Linked DNA regions of Homo sapiens: regions 1, 2, 3, 4, 5 and 7 are each linked to region 6. The links are contacts of gene promoters, found by promoter capture Hi-C in blood cells and fetal thymus (Javierre and others, 2016). All regions are on one chromosome and are shown on one strand. Each heading gives the region's core, a stretch centred on a gene start or on the middle of the fragment in contact. The rest is flanking DNA. Distances are from core to core; before and after follow the strand shown.

What was found. The method cuts DNA at HindIII sites, captures the fragments that hold promoters and counts their contacts. A CHiCAGO score of 5 or more calls a contact.
Region 1: a contact is called between a fragment that was not itself captured here and the fragment with the promoter of SNAPC1 in region 6, in 1 of 17 cell types (non-activated CD4 T cells). The highest score is 6.9, in non-activated CD4 T cells.
Region 2: a contact is called between a fragment that was not itself captured here and the fragment with the promoter of SNAPC1 in region 6, in 1 of 17 cell types (total CD8 T cells). The highest score is 5.4, in total CD8 T cells.
Region 3: a fragment that was not itself captured here is called in contact with the fragment with the promoter of SNAPC1 in region 6 in 1 of 17 cell types (naive B cells); the score reaches 5.3 in naive B cells.
Region 4: a contact is called between a fragment that was not itself captured here and the fragment with the promoter of SNAPC1 in region 6, in 2 of 17 cell types (total CD4 T cells and naive CD4 T cells). The highest score is 6.3, in total CD4 T cells.
Region 5: a contact is called between a fragment that was not itself captured here and the fragment with the promoter of SNAPC1 in region 6, in 4 of 17 cell types (activated CD4 T cells, fetal thymus, total CD8 T cells and 1 more). The highest score is 7.7, in activated CD4 T cells.
Region 7: a contact is called between a fragment that was not itself captured here and the fragment with the promoter of SNAPC1 in region 6, in 6 of 17 cell types (fetal thymus, activated CD4 T cells, non-activated CD4 T cells and 3 more). The highest score is 7.1, in fetal thymus.

The regions. Positions count from the first base shown.
Region 1 is chr14:61,374,569-61,378,299 of GRCh38, forward strand. The region is part of intron 1 of PRKCH (protein kinase C eta); the gene reads left to right. Among named protein-coding and RNA genes, the nearest start is that of PRKCH-AS1, 54 kb to the left of the region's middle. The HindIII fragment of the contact is 2,848 bases long and covers 748-3,595 here.
Region 2 is chr14:61,393,447-61,397,099 of GRCh38, forward strand. All of the region lies in intron 2 of PRKCH (protein kinase C eta), which reads left to right. Among named protein-coding and RNA genes, the nearest start is that of PRKCH-AS1, 72 kb to the left of the region's middle. The HindIII fragment of the contact is 3,111 bases long and covers 74-3,184 here.
Region 3 is chr14:62,121,849-62,125,191 of GRCh38, forward strand. It overlaps the pseudogene SERTAD4BP. Among named protein-coding and RNA genes, the nearest start is that of LINC00644, 16 kb to the right of the region's middle. The HindIII fragment of the contact is 4,947 bases long and covers 1-3,343 here.
Region 4 is chr14:61,409,162-61,412,761 of GRCh38, forward strand. All of the region lies in intron 2 of PRKCH (protein kinase C eta), which reads left to right. Among named protein-coding and RNA genes, the nearest start is that of PRKCH-AS1, 88 kb to the left of the region's middle. The HindIII fragment of the contact is 7,709 bases long and covers 1-3,600 here.
Region 5 is chr14:61,318,920-61,322,753 of GRCh38, forward strand. PRKCH-AS1 (PRKCH antisense RNA 1) reads right to left here. Exons shown (of 5, transcript NR_186042.1): 1 at 3,616-3,834. PRKCH (protein kinase C eta) reads left to right here and starts at 2,660. Exons shown (of 14, transcript NM_006255.5): 1 at 2,660-3,545. The coding sequence starts at 3,183. RefSeq lists silencers at 2,453-2,722, 2,873-3,042 and enhancers at 3,004-3,548, 3,549-3,834. The HindIII fragment of the contact is 823 bases long and covers 940-1,762 here.
Region 6 is chr14:61,760,641-61,764,267 of GRCh38, forward strand. SNAPC1 (small nuclear RNA activating complex polypeptide 1) reads left to right here and starts at 1,780. Exons shown (of 10, transcript NM_003082.4): 1 at 1,780-1,948. The coding sequence starts at 1,821. RefSeq lists enhancers at 1-518, 519-1,262, 1,106-1,195, 1,263-2,006, 2,007-2,750. The HindIII fragment of the contact is 7,963 bases long and covers 1-3,627 here.
Region 7 is chr14:61,344,778-61,348,554 of GRCh38, forward strand. The region is part of intron 1 of PRKCH (protein kinase C eta); the gene reads left to right. Among named protein-coding and RNA genes, the nearest start is that of PRKCH-AS1, 24 kb to the left of the region's middle. The HindIII fragment of the contact is 555 bases long and covers 1,395-1,949 here.

The sequences.
Region 1 (3,731 bases), core at 922-3,421, 390 kb before region 6:
CTGTACACCCACAGGCCCAACACTATATAGAAGTTGCCAAGGCTTGAGGCTTGCACCCTCTGAAGCCACAGCCCGAGCTGTACATTGGCCCCTTTTAGCCATGGTTGAAGCTGGAGTGGCTGGGACACAGGATGTCAGGTCTCAAGGCTGTACAGAGCAGTGAGGGCCCTAGGCTTGGCCCCCAGAACAATTTTTCTCTTCTAGGCCTCCCAGTCTGTGATGAGAAGGGGTACTGTGAAGATCTTGGAAATGCCCTGGAGATCTTCCCATTATCTTGCCTATTAACATTTGGCTCCTTGTTGCTGATGCAAATTCCTGCAGCTGGCTTGAATTTCTCCCCAGAAAATGGGTTTTTCTTTTCTACTGCATGGTTGTACTGCAAATTTTCCAAACTTGTATGCTGTGCTTCCCTTTTAAATGTAAGTTCCAATTTCACACCATCCCTTTCTTCACTCATATGAGTGTACACTTTGAGAAACAGCCAGGCCACATCTTGAATGCTTTGCTGGTGAGGAATTTCTACTGCCAGTTACCCTAAATTATCTCTCTCAAGTTTAGAGTTCCACAGATCTCTAGGGCAGGGCCAAATGCCACCAGTCTCTTTGCTAAAACATAGGAAGAGTGACCTTTACTCCAGTCCAGTAAGTTCCTCAGTCTCCATCTGAGACCACCTCAGCTTGGACTTCATTGTCCATATCGCTATCAGCATTTTGGTCTCAACCATTGAACAAATACTAGGAAGTTACAAGCTTTCCCATATCTCCCTGTCTTCTGAGCCCTCCAAACTGTTCCAACCTCTACCTGTTACCCATTTCCAAAGTTGCTACCATACTTTTCAGATATCTTTATAGCAGTACCCCACTCTTGGTACCAATTTTCTGTATTAGTCTATTCTCACACTGTTATACAGAACTACGTGAGACTGGGTAATTCATGAAGAAAATAGGTTTAATTGACTCAGATTTCTGCAGGCTGTACAACAGCATGGCTAGGAGGTGAGGGGGAAGCAAGCACGTCTTATCATGGCAGAGCAGAGAGAGAGAGAGTGAAGGGGGAAGTGCCACACACTTTCAAACAACCAGATCTCGTGAGAACTCACTGACTATCATGAGAACAGCAAAGGGGAAGTCTGCCTCCATGATTCAGTCACCTCCCAGCAGGCCCCTTCCCCAACATGACTGGATTACAATTCGAGATGAGATTTAGGTGTGAACACAGAGCCAAACCATACCACGGGCAAAAATTGATTTTATAAGAAGTGAGAGAATGAGACAGGTGAATATTTTGAAGGCTTGTGTGGCAAATATTCATTAGCCAGGTTTATTAAAAACTCAGCTACTTGGGAGGCTGAGGCAGGAGAATCACTTGAACCCGGGAGGTAGAGGTTGCAGTGAGCCAAGATCATGCCACTGCACTCCAGCCTGGGCAACAAGAGTGAAATTCTGTCTCAAAAAAAAAAAAAAAAAGCTCATAAATACATTAAGATTTTATTCACAGTGTGGTGGGTGTGGTACTCAAGGCCTTTAATGGGATTTTAATAATCCAAACCTAATTCAGTCTCCAGATGACTGTGCAATATAATGGAGATAATGCTGCTTTACTTTTCCTTACTCAGAAGGTGGTTGTGAAGGTCTGCTCAGGGTAGCCAGCGTGCCTTTCCCAACACCCTTCTTTCTGTTTTGCTGGTTCTGCTTTCTCTCATTCTCTAAACATGGCTTTGGTCCTTGATTCTTTGCTCTTTGAACTGTACAATTGTTCCTTGAGGGTCAGTCAGCTGTCTTGTGGTTCAGTTATTCCTGTGTGGATGACTCTACCTGCAGCCCAGCCCTTTATTTTAAGTTTCAGGTCCCATTTATCTTTTTGTCACACATTTCTAATCTCCCTACAAATCAGTATTTTTAAAAACCAGAGTCATCCCAAACCAACTGACCCTCTAGATTGCCTTACTTCTTGCAGATTTAGTCTTACCGTCTTCCAGATACTACAGCTGCCTTTGGGCTTTTCATCATCCCTTATCCTTAGCCACCAAGTCCTGCTGAGCTTCTTTTGTAATACTTCTCTCCTGCCTCCTCCACTGCACACTTGTACCACTGAGACAGTCTCTTAATTCTGCCCAGCACCTCCAGCCCCATCTACACCCCTCTAGTTTGTCCTCCAGCATGTTGTTTTAGGACTGTTGCTAGCCTAATTATTTGAAATGAAATTTCAGTTCTTAACTTGGCATCCAAACCTTTCGTCCATTGCATTTCTAGCTTTACCTTCTAATTTCTAGCTTTACCTTCTAATTCACTTAAATGAGATACAATTTAATTAAACCATGTATTCCTTGCAGCTTCTGTGCTGTTTTCCACATCTGTCTCTTTCCCCATGTTGGCAGGGTAAATTTTAGAGGTGTAATGAAATTTGCAGGTGGAAGTTATGGGGATATAGATTGTCTTTAGCTTAATGTAAGGATGACCTTTCCAACAGAATTGCTAATGATGGGGTGGGTATCATGGAAGAAGTCTACCTGTCATCTCCCAGGTCATCTACTGTCATCTCCCCTTTAAAGACCTCATCTTCCATATCTGCACATTTGGCTTCTCCTCTCTTTTGAAGCTGCTTGTTTCCATGTCCCATGATGCTAAACTTGGGGACTCCTCCCACCTCTCAGATTGTATTTTCTCTGGTTCTTTCTTTCACTCCTTTAGTGAATTTGCTTTTTCTTTTCTTCTTTTCCTGTGCTCTTTCTTGAAAAATTTCACTGCTCTTAGACTTAGTGTTTACCTTTTGAGAAAAATTCCCAAATGATAACCCCAGCCGTATGTTTAACTACATGATTTGTCTTTATTTCCAACATCTTGCCAGATATTTCTATTTGAGTACTTTTGTGTCCAAATTTAAACTCATTTCTTTCCCTTTAAAACATGTTCTTTCCCTGAGTTCCCTGGCTGATTAGTGGCAACAGAGATGGGCAGATCTTTCTGTAAAGGGCCAGAGAGTAATATTTTTGTCTTCATGGGCCATAAGGTCTCAATCACAGCTACTCATCTTGTAGATAATATGTAACTAAAGGGTTGTGACTGTGTTTCAGTAAAACTTTACTTATCAAAATAGGCAGCAGCTGGCATTGGCCTTTGGGCTGCTGTTTGCTGACCCTGATCTAGGATACCCAGGCCCCAAACTCCATACTCCTTTGGCCTTTCCACTGCTTTTGTTTGCTCTCTTCACATGATTATTAATTTTCACTGATTTCACCCTTAGCAAACCATTCATACTTCTAGACCATAGCTGTCTGTCTATTCATTCATCTAGTAGACAAAATCTTCCTTTTACATGTTAATCTCTATCATTTTACATAATCAAAAACCTCTAGTGGCTCCCCTTGGCCTGCAATCTAAGGTTACAGTTCTCTGGGTGTAGCTCTTTCTGTGTTTTGCCTCCAGCCTTCTCTCTTACTCCTGTATGGACATTCCTCCAATGACACTGATCAAGTGTGTGTTCTGATATTAGTTCTATCACTTCTCACAGGTTGCTCCTGACTCAGAATGGTCTCACTTCCCACTAATTGAAACTTGCCTTCAGGCCTCAATTCAGGGTCTCACTTCCCAGGTAAAGCTTCGCCCTAGCCCAGTGATTGCTCCTCTCCTAGGGCTTTTTTTTTCTTTTTCTTTTTCTTTTTTTTTTTTTGAGACAGCATCTCTCTCTGTCACTTAGGCTGGAATGAAGTGGTGTGATCACTGCAGCCTCCA
Region 2 (3,653 bases), core at 379-2,878, 370 kb before region 6:
GTAAGGCATAGCCAGTGTGAGGTTTCAGTAGAAATCCCAAGGTGTTTTAAGCCCATTAATTTTATGTCACTCAAGCTTCTAACTCTTTCTCCTATGGGTGGGAAACAGCTGAAATCTCAGTTCCTATCTTTCAGCATCCTAGCTCTTGCTCCTGTCTGGACCTCTTAGAGTTTCCCTTGCACATGCACAGTTTAGGAAGATGTGAGGGCTTGAAGAGTTTACATATGTGGAGGTTCTTCTTTCTGTGGCCCCATCTTTCCAGGTTTTCTCCCCTCAATATCCAGTCATCTGGTAGGCTTGAATTTTGTCAATTCTGCCTTCAAGCCAATAAAACTGTGGTTCCATATTGAGTTCTATTTACCCAATCCTGCACAACCTGGGGAATAATCTGGAGAAAAGCCCTACAAATGTGGGTCTCACCTAATGCGGTTTCCCTCCTTCACGTGTCAGATTCTCTCTAGTTTGTATGTGTTTTTGGTTGTTCTCTCACATCATCAACTAGTTGTTTAAAATATATTTTCCAGGTATTTTAATCTTTTGGTGGGAGGGTTGGTCCATATCAAGCTACTTCACCATTACTAAAACCTCATGAAGATTTTTAAGCATGTGGCTTAATTGTTTGTATTTTTGGTATTGGCATTTTGCAAAATTGGTTACACTTTCTTTGAGAAATAGTTTTCTCCACTCCTTTCAGCCAACCATTCCCATTCATATGGGTGAATTGTTTTAATGTTAAAGTTTTTCAATATATCGTCTGCATTATTAAATCTTGTCTTTTTGCACAAACCTGGATTTAGCAGAAACCTAGAATACTTGACATAAAAAAAAAAACTGTTCAGGTTACAATTTGGGGGGGTGTTCTGCCTGCTCCAAGGTCTTTTTGCTTTGCTTGGTATCTTTTATGTACAGAGAAAAATGAGTCTGTTCCTAGCCTAGTCAAATAAAATCAATGTAGTATTATGGAACATTGTTGATAAAACATTCTCATCATGCACGTAGAACATGGATCAGCTATGGTAGAAAGAAACACAACAGTGAGAAAGAGGTCAGGAGGAGGAGTGGGTAAGATTCTCTCTCATTCGAGCTGAATCAACTCTCTGCATTAAGTTACAAGGGACTGGCGAAGTAAAGCAATGCATGTTAGACCAGGTCTGATTGTGCCATAATCATTACATGACTTTTTTAGAGCCATGCCAACTCTCTAGGACTAAATGCTCACCAAATACATCTGATTGTTCTCATTGTATTTATTTCTTAGTTTCAGTGATAATAAGAATGAAATGGTAAGTCATACTAGAGGTGAGTTCTTACTAGGTCATTGCAGTTGTGTCTTTCAGAGCTGACCCTGGGTAAAATTGTGAGATGAGTTGAGTTTATCTTTGGTAATTCCATCTTTGCTTTAAGCTAGTCCTTTGTCTCTGCCTACAGTTGTCCCTTACTGCAGCAAGAAGCCCAGTGGTCCCTGTCCAGAAAGAGTTGCTGATAAGGAAAACAGTTAATTCATAGGCTAATTCACACTACAGTGATAGAGATTGATGTCATAGTACTCTATTCCTCTTAGGTGTGTTTGCATATTTTAAAAGATGCTGGAAGAGCTGCTTTATCCATGAGAAATAGACTTTTAATGCTAAAATTTTAATATTGAAATCTACGGGTGGGGTATATTTTAGGAACCCCATATCTGTTCTCTGTGTCTCTGTGCGTGCATTGCTTTTTCATTTTGGCTCCTAGACTGGGGCTCAGCTTGAGCTTGCACGTTGCTGCTGCCTTTAAAACACCGCTCCCTTGTCACATGCAGAGGACGTGATGGCTGCCTGTCTGTGTTAAGTAAGAAGGAAATGGAGCCCCCCCCCGCATTTGCCTGCCACAGCTGTGGCAGCAACCTGGACCTGGCACTGAGAGCATGTCCCTAGCTTGACCTCGCTCCTGGAAGCCACCTTAGATTATGTCCAGCCATAATATGACAGGTTGGCTGGTGCAACATTTGGAGCTCTAGTTCCCATCTTGGATACTGAAAGCCTTCATGGAAAAGCAGTGTAAGGTCAGGCCTGCCCAGTGTGTTTTGGACTGTGAAAAGGGCATTGTCCTAGGATCCTGGAGGCACTGTCAAAGCTCAGGAAATGTTGGCTGATCCTCAGTCTGTCTCACATGGTTGTCTTGAAGGTCAGATGATATAATATATGGGGAAGTGCTTTGCAAACTATAAAGTACTATATGAAGGTATGTTAGTGGGATTTTCATTTCCATGTTCCTATTGTCACAGCAAGGAGATCCCAGTCATTTCCCCTACCCCTGCCCTGGGACCATCTTGTATACTCAGCAGGTTCGTTTTATCTTAACATTGACTTTATGGCCAGGCGTGGTGTCTCACACCTGTAATCCCAGCACTTTGGGAGGCTGAGGCAGGCAGATTGCTTGAGCTCAGGAGTTTGAGACCGGCCTGGGCAACATGGTGAAACACCATCTCTACAAAAAATACAAAAATTAACCAGGTGTGGTGGTGCACACTTGTAGTCTCAGCTACTTGGGAGGCTGAGGTGGGAGGATTGCCTGAGCCTGGGAAGTGGAGGTTGCAGTGAGCTGAGATAGTGCCACTGCACTCCAGCTTGGGTGACAGAGTGAAACCTTGTTTCAGAAAAAAAAAAAAAAAAAGAAAAGAAAAGACTTTATTTTATACAAGAAGCCTCAAGAATTTCATGGACAGTGGCTAGCATAATGTTGGCTTATCTCCATGCCTGTTTTCATGATCTCCTATGCGGGTTCTGCCATAAGCTCAGATTCTATAATCTCAAAGCACTCCTTTAAAAAAAATTACTTAAATTGGACGGTGGTCTGTGATATACAAGGCTGGTATTGGGGCTACTGACTGCTACTTACCTCATTTTTTAATTTTTCATTAATTATACTGAATTAGCTCAGGCAAAACTATTTTGTTAAATGTAAGACATGATTGAGAAGTGACATAAGAAAAACCTGCTGGGTGCAGACCTGTAATCACATCATAGATGCTGGAGAGATAAAGATGAACGAGACATAGACACTCTCACAGGAGCTCATAGGAGGGAAGGCAGATACATATTATGTATGCAATGCAGGGAGCCAGGTCCCATGGCAGGAATAAGCCCAGTGCATAGTGTTGGCACATGGGACTACATAATCAATTTGGCCAGGAGGGTTTAGAGAAAGCTTTTCTGGGGAGGTGATGTTTAAAACAAGTCTGAATGATAAATAGGACTGTGCCTAGAAGGGAACAGAGTTCAAGAGAGGGAGACAGTTTGTACAAGAAACGAAAAGGAGTGTGGAGGTGCTAAAGGTAGGGGGTGTGGAGGTGCTGAAGATTGGGGAGTGGGATGGGGGGATGTGGCCAGAGATTTCGGAGGGCTTATGTGTGGGCTTGCCCAGGACAGGCTCAGTTTGTTGGTTACACCAGAATAATTATACAACAGCGCCACTGTTCACTTTCAAAAGGGTGCCAGGTCAGACAATAAATTGCATGTTCACACCACTTGTAGGCTAATAGAAATGATAAGATACCAGTGAAGGGTTTTAAGCAGAGATCTGATTTGGTGGCAGTAAGTTCAAGGGTGGGGAAGGGGTGTTAGTTGATAAGACTAGATCTAAGGTGTGGAGAACCATTATAGAGACTTGGAAGG
Region 3 (3,343 bases), core at 633-3,132, 360 kb after region 6:
ATCTTATGTTTTTTTACAACCCTTTTGGGATAGCAGAAGCAACGTTGGCGTGGATAGATGTTTTTGTTAATATACTCAAGCATGGAGTGGTGGTGGTAGTGATATCAAAGTGGAAGACAATGTGAGTGATATAGATCAGGTACTTTTAGAAAGGCTGCTATTATCCATAGGTTAGGGATTAAAACTCTTTTCTTTGAGTACCAGTCCTGGGTATCGAGGGAAGTTGTAGTATCTCTCTAGCATATCTCTAGGTATGGATTTCTTGGAACCCATATACTGCAATGTGCTTCCAAAAAAGCAATTTTCTTTCTAATTCATTTCTACTTTCCAAGGTAAAAGATGGGGTAAAAGGAAGCATCATTCCTCAGAATCAGGAATGCACTTCTAGGGGGTGGAAAATCAAAAAGTTTACCCAAGAAGCCTCCTGCACTTCGCCTCTAAATTTCTGTCATTAGCAGGGCCAGATCACGGCAGCAACTGGCTTTAGTGCAGCATCTAAGGAAACCTAATGGTGTTCTGTTTGGTTCAGAGACCATTACCATTGGAGCAGGATAGGCTTGTGGAACTGGTGGGGTTTTCTTTACTATTCCATGCCTGTGCTTGGGGTTATCCCAAGGGACATGGATGCAATCTAGTACCAGACAATGCTGCTGGTATCTTGAGAAACTCTTCTAAGTCATTGGCTCTCAGTATTCCTGGAAGTTCCTAAGAAAGTCTGCTCGAGCTGGAACTTGTTAGTAATTCTAAATTGCCAGTAAAGTCAATATTGTGCTTGGGGTGGATAAATCTGAAGAAACAGATTGCTCCATTGATTTGGAGATAAAACCTGACACTGAGTTCTGCTACCATAAAGGATATTATCCAGAAAGGTGATAGGCAAGGGGGTTATGAGAGAGAAGAAAGATGGCTGATGGAAAATTGTTAAACATCAACAGAGCCAAAGGTCTCCAGAAGGCACAGCATCATAGCCTTGAACTTTGCACCCATCTACCTTCTTGAATACACTCATGAATGCTTCATGCAGCCCATGCTTAGCACTAAAGAGAGGACCAATGTCCTAGGTATAATATAATGCTGCTGAGCAGGATATGTACTTATGATTTCAAAATGAAGTCACTGCAATAATAATACGTAACATTTACTGAGCAGGAAATATGAGCACATGTGACAGGCACTGAGTAACTGCTTTTTAAACATCATCTCTTCTAATTCCAGTAAAACTCAATGAGTTTGGTATTGTCCCCCCGTTTAACAGATAAAGAAAAGTTAGGCTCTTTGAGTTTAAATATCTTGGCCAAAGTCAGTAAGCAAATAAACTGTAGAGCTGGTATTTGAACTAGTGCCGTTGGACAGAACTAGAAGGTTATGCTGAAGTATTTCAAGCCATGCAGTGAGACTGCAGAATGTGGTTAGCAGGGACAGATGGGGTAACTCTTTCTAATCAACTGTGGTCATGGCCCTTAAGGAAATATCTCCAGTAGCTTTGTCACCAGCAAATCATTATTTAGCTAGATAGGGACAATTGCACTTTTAAAGGCTCATGCCAGGCTAACATGTTACAAAGAAAAATCAGTAAGACATTGTGAAGCTGAGGTGCCTGATTTATCTATAACACAAGTCAGTTGTTGATCTGAGATGGAACCCACCTTCTTTCTTGTCATTGATCAGCCTCCACCCCTTCTGTCTGTGGGTAGGATGCACACATCTAATAGGATGGTTTCAACTCTGTTTTTGGAATGTTTTGATTTAAATGTTGTGGGGGGAAAAATGAAAGCCAAACTAAAATTAGGATATATTGAACTGATCACTTCTTCACCATGTCTCCAGCTTTGAGTCTTGACAAAGAATGGATTGCTTTGACAGGAGTTGTTCTTTTTACTGTGGTCTGTTATCTCAAAGTGTTTGTAAATTAATTTGCTGATGATGTTTCCTTAATGTACTGTCTCCAGACCATGTACCAAATGAAATCACTTACACCGTAATAGGATTTCAGTTTTCTGGAGGCAGAAGCAGAGCAATGAGGAAGAGCATTTGAGCAATCATTTGTAATTACATTTTAAACATTTATTTAAAGAATTATATAAAAATTATATTGCTAGAACTCTAATGACAGGGATGGTCACTCTGTTCTGTAACTTTTAATTTGTTGGTTATTTATGTTTTATACTACCAAATACACTGAGCTTGGCACAGATATTTTATGGGCCCAGAGGATATAGCATTAGAAACAGCTTGAATATTCAAGCCATCATTAGCCATTTCACTTTCAGAGACAAATTTAGGCTCAGCCTAATTCAGTTTTGTAATTTACATACTGTTCTCAGAGCTCAGAACACTCAGAATGTGAAGACATAAAGTCATTTCATTTTTTTTCTTGTCTATTTCGTCATCTTTATTTGAATAATAGGCTGGGTTAAGTTTGGCCTTTTAGTTGCAGGAGAACTATAACCGATTTACACATGTTTACTGAATCATAACAACCAAACTTCTTTGGATAGTCAGATCAACTTTAATTAATTATCCAGATGATTACCTGTATGTTTCAAAAATAGTTTACACCTCCTTCACCCAAAATGCATGACCAGTGGCAATACACCAGAAATATTTGGAGTTGTTATAGAATCTGTACTACGTTTTTTCAACTTGATCATTTGCAATATCTTCTTGCAGTTTTTTTTAACTGTCTAATTACAATCTAGTATCTTTGGGAGGCAGGGTGGTGGAGTCTTTGAGTCAGAGCTAGGAGGCCAGGCTGGGCTCTGCTTCTATGTGGTAGATTTGTGACTAATGGCACAAATAAGGTCTACAATTTGATTGAGTGTTTACTATATGCTAGGCACAGTGCCAGTCACTTTCCATGAATTATTTCAATGATCTTATGAGCCAGTGTTATTTCTATCCTTACTTTACAAATGAGATTTCTAGAGAGTTTATGTAATTTGCTCAAAGTCACTCAAATAAGAAGCAGCAGAGCTGGAATTCAGACCACTTCCATCTGACTTCAAAACCCAAACTCATAGCCACGTGCCAGAATGTAAATTATTGAACTCGTCTGGGCTGTAGTTTTCTCATCTGGACACTGAGGAGGCTGAATCAGGTGATGGATACATAGTTATCAGCTCCGAATGTTTTGAGTTCTAATCCAGCCAAGCAAACAGATGTAGGAACTTATGTTTGCTATATATTTTAACCTAAAAGTGGCTAGAACCATCCTCCAAAATTGATACTGAAAACATTTTAAATAGCTAAACAGCTTTCAGGGAGATAATTGTCAAACTGATACCAGCTGTGAAGGCTTTTCAGCATTTTAACAACCCATGTGGGTATTTTTTAAGAGCAATAA
Region 4 (3,600 bases), core at 892-3,391, 350 kb before region 6:
TGGGGGTGGTGGCTGTGGGCGTAGACAGCCCTGTTCATGGGCATGCACACTGCCATGGGTGCTCCATGGGAATGCTGGTAGATAGCAGAACATGGATCAGGAGTTCTACTCTCCAGGATAGCATGACCCAGCCATGGGCTCAAGGAATTGCTCTTTGGGATATGTTTGAAACTCATCCCCTACTCTGGCCGATTCTTTCAGTACAGATACAGAAATGCAATGAGAACCTTCTCCCTGTAGTTCTGTTAAGATAAATGAGTGGTAGTGGCTCATACCTGTAATCCTAATACTCTGGGAGGCTGAAGCAGGAGGATTGCTTGAGCCCAGGAGTTCAAGACCAGCTGGGCAACATAGTGAGATGCCAGGCATCTCCACCAAAAAAAGAAAAAAAAATCCAGGCATGGTGGTGTGCACCTGTATTCCCAGTTACTTGGGAGGCAAGAAGATTGCCTGAACCCAGAGGTTTGAGGCTGCAGTGAGCCATGATTGTGCCACTGTGCTCCAACCTGAGTAACATGAGTGACACAGTGAGACCCTGTCTCAAAAAAAAAAAAAAAAAAAAAAAAAGAGTTAATGTTTATAAGGTGTTTCTAGGTCCCAGGAAAAAGAAATGTTTTAAAAGTAGATTGTATATGCTACTTGTTATTAATTTCTTATCTCTAGAGATTGAATGGTAAGAGCCAGGGCCAGCATTGTACATTGTCAGGCAGCATTGCCCCTGTCGTCTGCCTTTTCCTCCTGTTACTAGGAGCTTGTTAGGTTTGGTCACCAGCCTGATGACCTGATCAAATGTTGCCTGTCAACTTGGAGTGACTGTGGTTGTTTATTTTGTTATTTATTCACCAATAAATTGAGTTGGTTCACTCTGTGTATTTTTACAGCATTTGGCCTTTTCCCAAATATTTGCCTTAGTTTATTAAATTAGCTTCTCAGTTATAAGTTAAAGTGTGTGTTGACTTTTATGATTTTAATTTTACAGGCTTGGTTGGCTTTGAATGACCAGATGGCATCTCTTGAGTCTGTGAGCAGGTTTTGTTTCACTTAGGACTTCACCCCCACCCCGTTCTTAAAAATGGTGATATGTTAAATCCACTTTAAATCTAGTATTTGATTATTAATTAAAATATCTCTTATGCATTTTGAAGGTAAAATTACAATTTTGTTCCATGTGAAATGGGAGCATGTGTTGACAAACCGTTGATTAACTTGAGTGGATTTGGGTTAATCTTTTTACTCTGCTCCATGCTGCCTGCCTGTAGGGTAATATAAATCCGTTGGGCTGTTGCTAGGCTCAGCTGCTTCTGAGTAGTTTGACAGGTTTCATCCTGTTAAAGGCTCTTTTTCTCTAGGCCCTAGATTCTAGGGGTATTGGGGTGATGCTGGTGAATGGAGTCTAACTGCGTATTTGCTTCTTGCTTCCAGCACCAATTGTGGCCAATGGAGTGAGGCAAAGAGCACTGGTGTGGCTAAATTACTCCTTCTGCAGTCCCCAGCATATTATTGGATGCTCTTTTTCCCTCTCCCAGAGCTTTCCTTATCTTCTAATTTCAAAGATAAGCGTTACCTGTAGGCAACGCACCCGACCTCTATCCCTGTTGTGGTAGCTACACATAAACATAGCCATCATGGCCAGGTCCCTTGGGTGGTCACATTTCCTACTGTTCTGATCACCTTCCACTATCAACACTGACCAGTGTGCCTGGCTAATTCCAAACCGTGCGAATGGCTGTGTTGCCTGGGCTCATGAAGCCTGTCAGGAAGAGCTGTGGACAGATGATTTTTGAAAATGAGGGTGATTGCAAAGGGACAGAAAGTATGAGACATCGTGGATGCTGTCTTTTCCTTAGGCCTTCAGTCATTTGAAGTCAGGACTTCCAAGCCTGGATATCCAGTGGGCTTCTGGGGAAAGTGGATCAGAGCTCAGCAAGGATTGAGCCCCAGCGACTTCCAACAAACCATCCCATCCAACAGAGGCTGTCTTCACTATGCAGACCTTTGAGCCACCTCAGAAGACACCAGCCTTCATGCTCATCCTTTACACGTCTCTTTGGTTCATGTACCAGTCCCTTGTCCTCCTCGGTGACCAAGATAGGAATGGTGTCAACGGATGATTATGGCATGACATAGAGTAACTCTTTGCATAAAAGAGTGGACAGGGCAGGCACTTAACACTTGAGGACCCCTGTTCCAGTCAGCCACAGATGTATTTATTAGGCCTTAAACTGATGGGATGGTTCTTGGATTTTTCAGTTTAAAACCTATAGGGGGACTTTACTTTTGGCCAAATGCTGAAACAAGTATTGGATTTATCTTCCCATGTGAAAAACAAAATATGGACAAAATAAATGAAACAATGATTTGTAAGACACTGGATACATCAGACAACAAAGGCCAATGATTCCTGAGAGATAGGAAACAAATGAGGTGAGACCTCTGAGTTTTTTCAAACTGCCTTAAAAGAGTTTCCAAGCTATAGCACAGGAAAAGGGAACCATGTGGAGCCCAGCAGACTCCCTGAGTTGAGGATTGGATCTGAGAGTCCAGAGAGACTAAGGCCACTAGAGATCATGGGATACAGTACTAGAGAAGAGACAGCTGCACCAAGACATAACTCTGGAGGTGTACAAAGTTCTGAGAACTGATCAGTGTAAAGAAGCTGCCTGAGTCTGGGGAAAGCACCATTCAAAAGGAGCAAAGATAACTGTTTCTGGTGCTCACACGGGGCCAGAAATAGTGCTTCTGCCACCAACCAGACTGGAAAACTTCAAGAGTCATGGAGCATTGGGTAGAGTAGAGTACATAGAAGGGCCTTGCTTGCTTAGTGGGGAATAACTAACCCAACTGAGCATGGCTTTAAATCTAAAAAGCAAGATCTGATAGGGCCGAACTATTTCTGAGTAACTTAGCTGTGTCCCAGATCAAAGCTGATTTTATAGAAATACAAAACTATCACTCAATAGGCAAAAACCAGTGTCTGGCATCCAACCAAAAATTACCAGATGTACAAAGAAGCAAGAAAGTACAACCCATAATGGGAGCAAATCAACCAATCAAAACTGACCCAGAATTAACGCAGATGTTACAATTAGCAGATAAGGACATTAAAATGGTTATTATAACTATATTCCATATGTTAAGCAGAAACATACTTGTCTTTAAAAAGACAAGTAGAAAAGTGAAAATGGAGAAAATAAACAAAAAGACCCCAATTGGATTTGAAACATGGGTTGCTTTTCTATGACTCCATCCTTATGTTACTTCAACCGAACCCATATGACCTGAACCTGGCCCCTGCTAATTTATCTGAACCATAAGCTCCTACTTATCTTCTCAGTGCTCTCTCTAGCCAGGACTGTGGGGTCATCCCTGCAGTGCTAACTCAGTGATGCCCAGGGGTCACTTGACCCTTTAATCTTCCTTCATGCCTGCTGTGCCAATGCCTGACCTGAGCAATCATCTCACAGATGATTGGATGTTGCTGGCTGGACCCATGGCATATAAATTTTTGGCATTAAGCAGATACTTAGCAAAAACGGAAGCATTCTTCTTGTGTTGGTTTCTCAGCAATTCTAAAACTTTTACACCTGAAAGCCCCTTCCC
Region 5 (3,834 bases), core at 101-2,600, 440 kb before region 6:
TGGGCTCAAGCAGTACTCCTGCCTCAGCCTCCCAAAGTGTTGGGTTTATAGGTGTGAGCCACCTTGCCTGTCCCCAGAGAGGTATTTTAAAACACAAATCCTCATCTTACCCTGGCTCTGCTTAACAGCCTTCAGAGGCGTCCAGTGGCCCATAGATAATGTCCAAGGCTTTCCTGTGATCTACCAGTCTGGTCAGTGTGACCACCTTTGCAAGCTCATTTCAGCCACTCTCCCCTCACCTTCCTCAGCTCCAGCCACGCCTTCCTCAGCTCCAGCCACGTAGGGTGCTTTTGGTTCCCAAACAGGCCAACCCATCTGTCTCCTCAGGAGCTCTCAATGAGCTGATCTCTCTGCTATTTGCTTTTTCAAGGAACCCTTCCCTGACCACCCATCCAGTTATAATACATCACCCCTTGGCACCGTGGGCTTTTCCTTCACTGCACCCTCTTCTATTAGTTGTTTTTCCTCCTTGTGGGACTGTAAGCCCCAGGAGGGCAGGCACCATGGCTGTCTGACCCACTGCTCTGTCACCATTGCCAATCCTGATAGGTACTGATAGGGTGAAGATGGAGTGTCTGGTATCGTCATATCCCAGTCCCAGGACAGCTGTGTGGCCACCTACCATTTGGGGACTGTTTTCTTTTTAAAATTTAAAAAAAAATTTAAAGTCTACACCCCATGATTCTGTATGGGGACTGTTTTCTTTTAGCCCCAAAGTCCAACAGGAGCAAATCCTTTAGTGGCTCTTAAAGCTAGAGTTCAGCTGTTTGGAGGAAAGGGTGACAGAGCTGACCCACAGGGTAGATGCGACATCTTCCCCTGGAGCACTAAGGCCAAACAGGAGCCCCCTGGACGTTTGGGAGCAGGCTTTACAAGCCCTGCCTAAAGCTAAGATGTCATTAGAGTGATGCGTTGCATCCCTGCCTTGTTCTCTAAGGAAGCTTTGGTGTTTTCAAGACAGGCCCTTTCCCCCCTGGCCCATTGTCCTTACTTGTTTTCATTCTGTATAGTGCTGTTATTACGGGTCAGGCCTCCTTGCACTCATGTGAAATCGTTGAGAACCTACTCAATTAGAAAGTTCTGAACAGGGCCTTAGAGGAGTGGGGGCTAGAAAGATGAACCTGGGGCCAGGCACGGGGGCTCATGCCTGTAATCTTAACACTTTAGGAGGCAGGGGCTGGAAGATCACTTGAACCTGGGAGCTGGAGGTTATGGTAAGCCATGATCACACCGCTGTATTCCAGCCTGGATGACAAAGCAAAACCCAGTCTCTAAAACATAAAAGAAAGAAAGGAGGGAAGGAAGAAAGAAAGGAATGAAAGCAAGCCGAATCTGCTCCGAGGGAACCAGTATAGCAAGACAGAATGTAATCAAGTATCTTAAGAGTGGCCTAGGCTTGGCTGGGTGCTGTGGCTCACGCCTGTAATCTCAGCACTTTGGGAGGCCGAGGCAGGCGAATCACTTGAGGTCGGGAGTTTGAGACCAGCCTGACCAACATGGAGAAACCCTGTCTCTACTAAAAATACAAAATTAGCCGGGCGTGGTGGCGCATGCCTGTAATTCCAGCTACTCGGGAGGCTGGGGCAGGTGAATCGCTCGAACCTGGGAGGCGGAGGTTGCGGTGAGCCGAGATGGCGCCATTGCACTCCAGCCTGGGCAACAAAAGCGAAACTCCGTCTCAAAAACAACAACAACAACAACAACAAAAAGTGGCCTAGGCTTTTTGGGGAACAAATTGGTTGTGGCTGGCCCTCAGGGAGCAAGCTTTGCGGCATAGCAGCGTAGGCTAAAAGGTCCTCCCCGGAGACAAAATCTGCAGGGACCACGGGGTGGGAAGCATCAGAAGGCTGCCCACTCTGACTGCAAATACAACAAGCTGGAGTGTTCCTAGAAGAGGCAATTTCTTCCGCGTGTGTGTTGGGGACAGCCTGTGTGTGTGAACATTTTCTGCCCTTGCCGCGCAGAGCTGGGTGGACCAGAAACCACCCGCAGAGGAAGAGACTTATTACCTCTTGGCCATGTCTGTCTCCAGAAGAACCGACCTTTCCTGCTCTATGTGCAACAAGACACACCTTCCGAGGAAGGAGGCGAACAGGATTTCCATCATTACTACTGCCCTATTAAAACACACACATACACACAACTGTGTAATTAGCCTCTGCAGGAAAGGCGCACAAACAGGATGCGTTCGAGCTGACCCCGGGATGAGCCATCCCTGTAAATATTAGGAAAAAGAACCTCCCCGCCGTGCCCCCGCCTCCGGCCAGGGCCTCTTGGGGATGGCCCTGCAGGGTCACCAGCCCACCGGGGAGGTTGGGAGAGAGGGGGCGGGCGACTCCTCGCCGCGCGGGTTCCTGGCTGGAGCGCCCTCCTCTGCGTCCTCCCAACCTTCCATCGCTCCCCAGGTCAGTCTACCACGCCTCAGGTGTTTGCTCGGGCTGGGCCACGAACCCTTTCCTTTTTGGCCTGCGCCCGGGGTGGCCCCTAACCCGCAGCGCACGGCCAGACCCAGCGCTACAAGGAGGGCGCGCAGGGCGGCGCAAGCGGGCACTGGCCTCCCGGGGGCTTGCGCGGGGATCCACCCACCGCAGGGCCGGGCCGCGGACCGCGGGCCACGCCCCTGGGGTCCGGAAGGCGCGGGAGCGGACGCGGGGGTTCTGTGAACTTGGAACCTGGCGGTGCGAGGTTCTCGCCGGGGATGCGGCGGCGGCAGCTGCTTCCTGGTTTGAAGCTCGCCGAGTGGGGGAGAGCGTGAGCCTTCGGAGGCGGGGGCAGGAGGAGAAGCAAGAGGAGGCGGGGGAAGAGACGCTTGGGGCTGGGGCTCACCGGACGGGTAGGTCCGGCTCTCCAGGGAGAGGAGCTGCCCGGCCCTGGAGAAGGGGCGAGTCCTGCGCGAGTCCCCGGGAGGCGCCGCGCGCTTGGAAGGGACGGTCGGGCTTCCCCGGCCCGCTGAGGGCTCGGCGGCGGGCTCCCCTCCTTTCCACCTCGGGAGGGAGGGAAGGAGGGGAGGGAAAAGTCCCACGGAGGAGGCAGAATGGCCAGTCGAGGGGCGCTTAGGCGCTGCCTTTCCCCAGGGCTGCCTCGACTCCTGCACCTGTCCCGAGGGCTGGCCTGAGACGGGACTCCCGGTTCTCCCGCTGCGAAGCAGCGCGGCCCCCCGGGGCCGGGGCAGCGGCGCCGGCATGTCGTCTGGCACCATGAAGTTCAATGGCTATTTGAGGGTCCGCATCGGTGAGGCAGTGGGGCTGCAGCCCACCCGCTGGTCCCTGCGCCACTCGCTCTTCAAGAAGGGCCACCAGCTGCTGGACCCCTATCTGACGGTGAGCGTGGACCAGGTGCGCGTGGGCCAGACCAGCACCAAGCAGAAGACCAACAAACCCACGTACAACGAGGAGTTTTGCGCTAACGTCACCGACGGCGGCCACCTCGAGTTGGCCGTCTTCCACGAGACGCCCCTGGGCTACGACCACTTCGTGGCCAACTGCACCCTGCAGTTCCAGGAGCTGCTGCGCACGACCGGCGCCTCGGACACCTTCGAGGGTTGGGTGAGTAGCGGTGACCCCTTCCCTTTGTGTCCACCCAACCCCCGTTCCCCTTATGTTTTTCAAAACTCACCCGGGTCCCGCTTTCCCATCGCTTTGTGGCTGAGGGAATTCCCTCCAGACTTTGGTCTTCGTCCACGTGGCCGCGGCACTGGTGACGCGACCGCGGTGGGTGTGTGCAGGCGCAGGTGTGTCTCCAGGAAGCCGGCCTGGACACGATCCCCTTTCAGGACAGCGGCTTGGCCTAACGGGAAGTCGGGCAGGGGTCCAGGGCGGTCACCCTTTCCGCCCA
Region 6 (3,627 bases), core at 530-3,029:
AATATATACATGAGAAAGAGAAACAAAATTCAAGGTAGTTATTTATTTATTTTTTGAGATTCGGTCTCACTCCGTAGCCCAGGATGGAGTGCAGTGGCACGATCTCGGCTCACCACTGCAACCTCTGTCTCCTGTAACCACCATCTCCCAGGCTCAAATGATCCTCCCACCTCAGCCTCCCGAGTAGCTGGGACTACAGGTGTGCACCACCATGCCCGGCTAATTTTCACCATGTTTCCCAGGCTGGTCTCCAACTCTTGTGCTTAAGCAATCCTCTTGCTTTTGTCTCCCAAAGTGTTGGGATTTCAGGCGTGAGCCACCGTGCCCAACCAGTAGCTGTGATTAAAGTAGGGTACAGTCAAAGGAATAGGTCAGAGGAGGAAATCGCAGATTGATGTGAAGGCGTTGGTAATGTTCTGGTTCCTACACAGGTGAAAGGTGTACAGGTGTTTAACTGCTATGCTTTTTATCTCACACATCGCATAAATTTTTCTGTGACATAAAATATTACATAACATTTAAAAAACAGGTCAAGAGGGCAGGGTGCAGTGGCTCACGTCTGTAATCCCAACACTTTGGGAGGCCGAGGGGAGCGGATCACCTGAGGTTAGCAGTTCGAGACCAGCCTGGCCAACATGGTGAAACCCTGTCTCTACTAAAAATACAAACAAAACAAAACAAAACAAAATCCGGTTGGAGTGGTGCATGCCTGTAATCCCAGCTACTCGGGAGGCTGAGGCAGGAGAATCGCTTGAACTCGGGAGGCGGAAGTTGCAGTGAACCGAGACCGCGCCACTGAACTCCGGCCTGGGCAACAAGAGCGAAACTCCGTCTCAAAACAAAAAACAAACAAATCCAAACAAACAAACAAACAAACAAAAACAGGTCAAGGATCAGAAAAGTAAAGTGAGTTGACACTCCATTTACACACAGAAAGCCCAATGTTTTTCTATTATATCAGGATACCTCTTCTAAAGAATGATAGCTTACCTTTCAATCAGAGAAATGATCTAAAGTTCAAAATGTTACTCCATAGCTAGCTCCTGGAGGAAGGAAGCTAGGTGGCAGCGTGTACACAAAAAGGCAATTCATCCAAATAATAATATAACAAGAATATAACAAGTAGGTATTTTCTGCTAAGTGCTATGTAGCACAGGGGTGAATGCGTGGCAGGGCAGGAGGAGGGCTGTTTACAAGAGGGTATGAAATGCAGCTCTTCTTTTCAAGAGTGGTTGCAGAATGCCAGGGCTACAAAGAGAGGGCCGCACATTAAGCATCGTATTATGTGGGTACAGAGTATTAGGGTTCTCGATGACCAGAAGGAGAATGAGTGCAGTTTGTTTCCTAGCAAGCCTTCTTTAGCTTCTCTTCCCAAGTGGGAGTGGGGTTGGGGTTGGGACTGTTCTTTCCTAGCTCAAAAGTTCACTTATGTCACACTAGGGTCAGTTTAAAGGAGAGTGCTAGTAAGGGTAAAGTCAAGTTACATAACCTAGCGGAAAATGAAGACCTAAAACCGCTCGTGAGCAAACACAACACTTTAGACGTAAACCTCTTCCAAAGAAGGGTGGATCTCAGCACTCTGGGTGAAAGCAATCTCAGCCAGTAAAACATCAGAACGCTTTCACGCACGCGCAGTAAGCACACGACCGGTGGCAAGAGCCCGGATAAAGGCGGAGCTAAAGGTGCCGGATAATGCATCACGGAGCGCGTGTGCGCACGCCGTAGGGGGCGGGCCGTTCGGGCTTGGTTTCCTGGGCGACCACCGCTGGCTAGTCCGTTAGAGGCGTGCGGGCTTCGGAGGCGTGCGGGCTTCGGGTGCCATGGGGACTCCTCCCGGCCTGCAGACCGACTGCGAGGCGCTGCTCAGCCGCTTCCAGGAGACGGACAGTGTACGCTTCGAGGACTTCACGGAGCTCTGGAGAAACATGAAGTTCGGGACTATCTTCTGGTGGGTGTTTCTTGTCCACCACCCGCCTCTCCCTGCCCGCAGGTGGTGTAGAAAGTTGCCTCCTTCCCGGCGATATTGCACTTGTGAAGGGCTGAGAAGAGCGGCAGTCACCGAAGGTTGCCTCCATGACTCCTGGACCTTCCCCTGTGCTCAGGCAACGCGCTTTCCCTGCTCTATTTCATTGTGCCCTGATGGTTGTTGCGGCCTCCTCCCAAATATGCGTCTCTGCCTGGCCTCCCTTCTAAACTCCTCTCTCCCATCTCCACCCTGAGCCAGGCCACTATCATTTGCCCTTCCCCAGTCTTGTTCTAGGACCTGATGTTTAAAAACACACAAGCAAAGACAAAACCCTTCAAGATTGAATTAATTTTTCCTCCAACAACCAAAGTTGTCTTTTTTTTTTTTTTTTTTTTTTTTTTTGAGACGGAGTCTCCTTTTGTCGCCCAGGCTGGAGTGCAATGGCGCGTTCGCGGCTCAGTGCAACCCTTCGCCTCTCAGGTTCAAGTGATTCTCTTGCCTCAACCTCCGGAGTAGCTGGGATTACAGGTGCCCGGCACCACGCCCGGTTAATTTTTTGTATTTTTAGTAGAGACGGGGTTTTACTATGTTGGCCAGACTGGCCTCGAACTCCTGATCTCGTGACCCGCCCGCCTCGGCCTCCCAAAGCGCTAGGATTACAGGAGTGAGCCACCGCGCCCGGCCCAAAAGTTGTTTTTCAAAAGTGCAAATTTGATTATGTCACTCCCCGACTTATTACTCTGTAGTGGTGCCCATTGCCTTTGGGATAACGCTTGAATTCTCTGACTTGCCAAGACCATTCCTCACTGGCCTTTGCCTATCTCTCCAGCTTCGCCTGCCAGTCCCCTCCATGCACTCACTTTCTTGCTCCAGCAGCTGCTTTTTTTTTTTTTTTTTTTTCTTTGGGCCCTCTACAGGCTTTTCCTAATCCTGGAGTTTCCACCGCAACTCTCTTGTTTTGTCCACCTTATTCTTCACTCAGGGTTAAGCTCAAATGACATCCTCGGGGGAAGTCTTTTTTGCTCTTCTAGACTGAGTACGCTGTTCATGTTTTTTCCCCGCATAGCACCCTGTTTTTATTTTATGTCACCGCTTTCCACATTTTGTTGTAATGGTATAGTTGAAAAGGCAGTGTGGGATTGTTAAGGGCATAGGTTATGGAACCCAATTGGCTGCATTTGATTGCAGGGTCCGCTATGACTTGGGGCAAGTTACTTGAGTTTCCATATCTGTAAAATAGAGGCAATGATAAACCTCATAGTAGTTGTGAAGATTAAATGAGCTGATATATCAGAAATACATTCTAAGTGCTCAATAAATGTTCATTATTATTATTTTTTTTTCTTGAGACATAGTCTTGCTCTGTCACCCAGGCTGGAGTGTAATGGTGCGATCTCCTATCACTGCAACCTCCACCTCCCGGGTTCAAGAGATTCTCCTGCCTCAGCCTCCCGAGTAGCTGGGACTACGGCTTGTGCCACCAAGCCTGGCTAATTTTTGTATTTTTAGTAGAGACGGGATTTCACCATGTTGGCCAGGCTGGTCAAATGTTCATTATTACTACCGTTTTAAAATTTTCCTTTGACTAGACTGACCTCTGTGAGGACAGTGACTGGATGAATCTATTTTTATTACCATAGTACATATAATATTAAAAAGGC
Region 7 (3,777 bases), core at 422-2,921, 420 kb before region 6:
CGCCTGCCTATGTGACCTGTTTTCACCAGATCCAGATTGCTAGCCCCTTAAAGCTTGAAGAACCTTAAAGGTCATCTGGAACAAAAGATTTATTTATTTTTAGCCCGGTGGCCACCCTGAACCCCCCAGTTGATTGATTGAGGCTAGTCTTGAGCGTGCCCTGCTTCACATGCTAGTTTTCCAGTTTCTACTTTGGGAGAATGACCTTATCATTAGGCTGGCCAAGAGGGCTTCTTTCTGTTCCTGTCACAGTACTAGGCTGTATACTCATTCACCCTCAGTTCCCTTTTCTGGTATATTTCTTAACAAATTATTTCCCTCTTTCCACTATTTTTAGGGGTAACAAGTCTAAGATATTTACATATAAATGGCTCTCCCTTCTCAAACCCTTTTCTAGCAAGCACTTTCTGGGAGGACAGTGTCTTACCAGGATCTTCTGTCACTGTGGTCCCTTTGAGGGTAGAAAGAATAGATTGTTGTGAAGTCTTTTGTCAGCCTCTTCATGGTTATAAACGTACTTAGTTTTCCAGACTATGTAGGTTTTAGACTTCAAGTGAAAAGAGTATACGTTGTTATGCAGCAATAGAAAACAAAACAACTACCACAAAATTGTATTTTTTCTCCATCCAGAGGCTTTAACTTTCAACATTTGTATATGGAGGCAAGGCTGACAGCCACAGCAGTAATTTCATGATGGCTGAAATAGCTGTGAACTGTGCATTAACTTGTTCCTTCTCTCTTAAATTCTGCTGCAGTGTTGGAGCAGGGAAGGCGAGCAGAGGAGTGATGAATAGAGTAGCAAGTGGGATAATATACAATAATAGGAGATACACAATAAGGATTAATTAGGTGTCAGGCTAAGTATTTCATGTGCATTAACTAATTTAATCCTCAGAATACCTTCAAGATATTCAGATTCTCTTATTATCCTCCTCTTTGGGAGGCAACTGAGGCTCAGAGAGGTTAAGATACTTGCCCCAAATAAGTGGTGAAGGCTGGGCACGGTGGCCCAGCACTTTGGGAGGCCAAGGCAGGAGGATTGCTTGAGCCCAGGAGTTTGAGACCAGCCTGGACAACATAGCAAGACCCTGTCTCTCTTTTTTTTTTTTTAAAGTTGTGGAGCTAGAGTTTGAGCACCTGCATGGAACCACTAAGCTGCATTACACCTGCCTCAGGTGGTTGATATGAAGAAAAGTAAAAATTTTTCAGATGGACTCTGGGTATTTGCCTTTTAAGGCTATATGCCTTTTAATTCTGATGTAAAGTGGTAGAGAAATGATTAAAGGTTTAAGAGTTGATAGGGCCCTGGGTAGCAGGGACACTTTACATGTGTTGTGTGTGCATCTGCAGCAGATGACAGCTCCCCAAATGGACATGCCTCCCTTGTTCAAGAAAGCTTGTCAGGGTGGCACCAATTTTTTTTTAGCAATTTAATGAATGAGGTATCAAATGATCACATAATACAAATTTGATTGATCTCCTTTTGGATATATCTCCCCTTAAACATTGTGCTGGCTACACTATCCATTTCTATAATACCTTTGATTTTATCCTCTTTACTCCTAACAGTGAATTCCTAGGTAAAGTCACAACTGAATTTATCAGCACAAGCATGCTGCATCATGTTGTACGTTCTGCAAACAGTAACTTGAGATAGTGTGTCATTTCCCAGTTCTTAAGGCTGTGGCCTACACCAATGGTCTTATTTTCCCTTTTGATTTTTTCAAAATTAACTGTTATTTTGCCAATAAGTTTAACATTTCATTGGAGCAATTATTACGTGTCTGGGGTTATGCAACACATGGGATGTGCAGAAATAAAAAGATAGTTTCCCTGCCCTCAAGGAGCTTGTCTTATAGGGGAAACAGATACATAAACACTTCTAGGGCACACAGATTTTCATGTATGTGTGTACTATGGTGTTAATGCAGAATTCTGTAAAGGAATAAAGCTTCCATGATCAAAGCAAGCATGGGCAAATGCTTCACATCTTTCTGCCTGTGTTTTGCGAGCCCATTCTGTTTAATGTGGACTTGATTTAAAGTCGACCTGCAGTCCTGGACTTCAACCAAACAGCCATTATAGTAATGAACATTTAAAGGAGTTATTTTTCCAAAGCATTATAGTTTTTCACATCCATCTTTTCATTCCCTCATTAGCTAATGATGTTGATGTCCTCACAAGCATTGTTTAGGAATGGCTTAGGAATTTTACCGTATGTTTACTTTGGCTTGTCTGCTGCCCCTTGCTTTGTAATCTGTTCACCGGTGATTCAGTTGTTTCTTTGAGTCCCTTTGAAATTGCAAGTTGACGGGTGGGGACTGGTGGGGAAAGAAATCCAGAATAGATATTCCTAAAACTGTGAAGTGAAAATTCAGGAGAGACTGTCATAACTCTGCTTATTTAAGGTGGTTTGGTTTGTGCCAAGCTAAAGGAGGGAATATTGATTGAATTACTTTTTTAAAATGCAATTAATTTTTATTTAATTGTTTTCCCTGGAGTTGTGGGGTTGAGGTATTGCAGTTTAAAGCAGTTTGGATGTGCTGATAATTTTTTTCTGATTATCTTCAAGTCTCCATGGACAGTGTCACTGCAGGTCTATTCATGCTTTCGTTCCTCCTTTACCTGCCTTCATCTGCTTTCTCTGGGCATTGGTACCCATACCCAGGTGTGGTCAGTTGGAGTAACTCCTGCCTTGCTGGGCTTAACTGTGGTGTTTCTGGGCCTAAGGCAATTGGAACATCTGTAGTTTATTTCCTAATCCCAATTTTGTGGAGGTTTGTGTTCTAGCTTTGATTCAATTACTCCTAAGTAGTGGCCCGTATTAAGTAGAGGCTGTGTGAGACAAGACACTTAATGTAGGCCCCTTGGAGCTGCTGGGTCCTTTTCATCAGAATTTGGCTAATGATGCCTCTCTCTTTTTTACACACTAAAGCCTAATATAACTAGTAATGAACCTCATTAATAATTTGTATTGGCAGATGTGAGGTGTCACACATTAAAACTGTTTTACACCATGAGCATTGACTTCATTCGGTCAGTGAGGGAGGATGCAACCACCTTTGCCAAAATAGGAAGGAAGAGAAGACCCAGAGTTTTCAGGGAACGGAATTAAATAGCACTTTAACAAGCTTGGCGGAGGCAGTGGGGTGAGGAGAGGAAGTTAATAGGCCCAGGGAGGAGAGTATCTCACTGGTTTCTCCAAGCTGATTCTTCTGGGTGCCAAGAGAGCTGTGGAAACCCACAGAGGAATGCCCCGGTTCCTTTCCTTCCTTCTTTCTGGTAAGGGTTTAGATCTATTTATTTGATGGTCAGCCTTCCAGTTTTATCAGCACCGGTCTCTTTGTACAACTTCCCAAATGTACAAACTCCAGACAGATGAGTACAGTTGGTGTTTTCCGGGGAGGGTGTTGCTCCCTGTGGTCTGTCACAGCCAGAGAGCAGGGGGCCAGAGAGAGGACTGATTGCCCATATGTTCCACATGAGTCGTCAGTGGTGCACCCAGTTTTAAAATGCTCTGGGGGTGTGTGGCCATGAAGTGGATTTTGAATGAATAGAAGGAAAAAGCTCGTGGATGAAAACCATGAGCCATTTGAACCGTGTGTGGTGTCTGGAAAAACAGGTGGTCTGGCAAAACTGACAAAGTTTGCTTGGGGAAACAGAAGCTTTGCCTCCACCTCTGATGCTTGGGCTGGGATGAAATAAGCCACTTTTCTGTTTAGACTGTGTTTAGATGGAGGGAAGCTTCTTCAGTTCTTTATTGGGTGCAGTGAATGG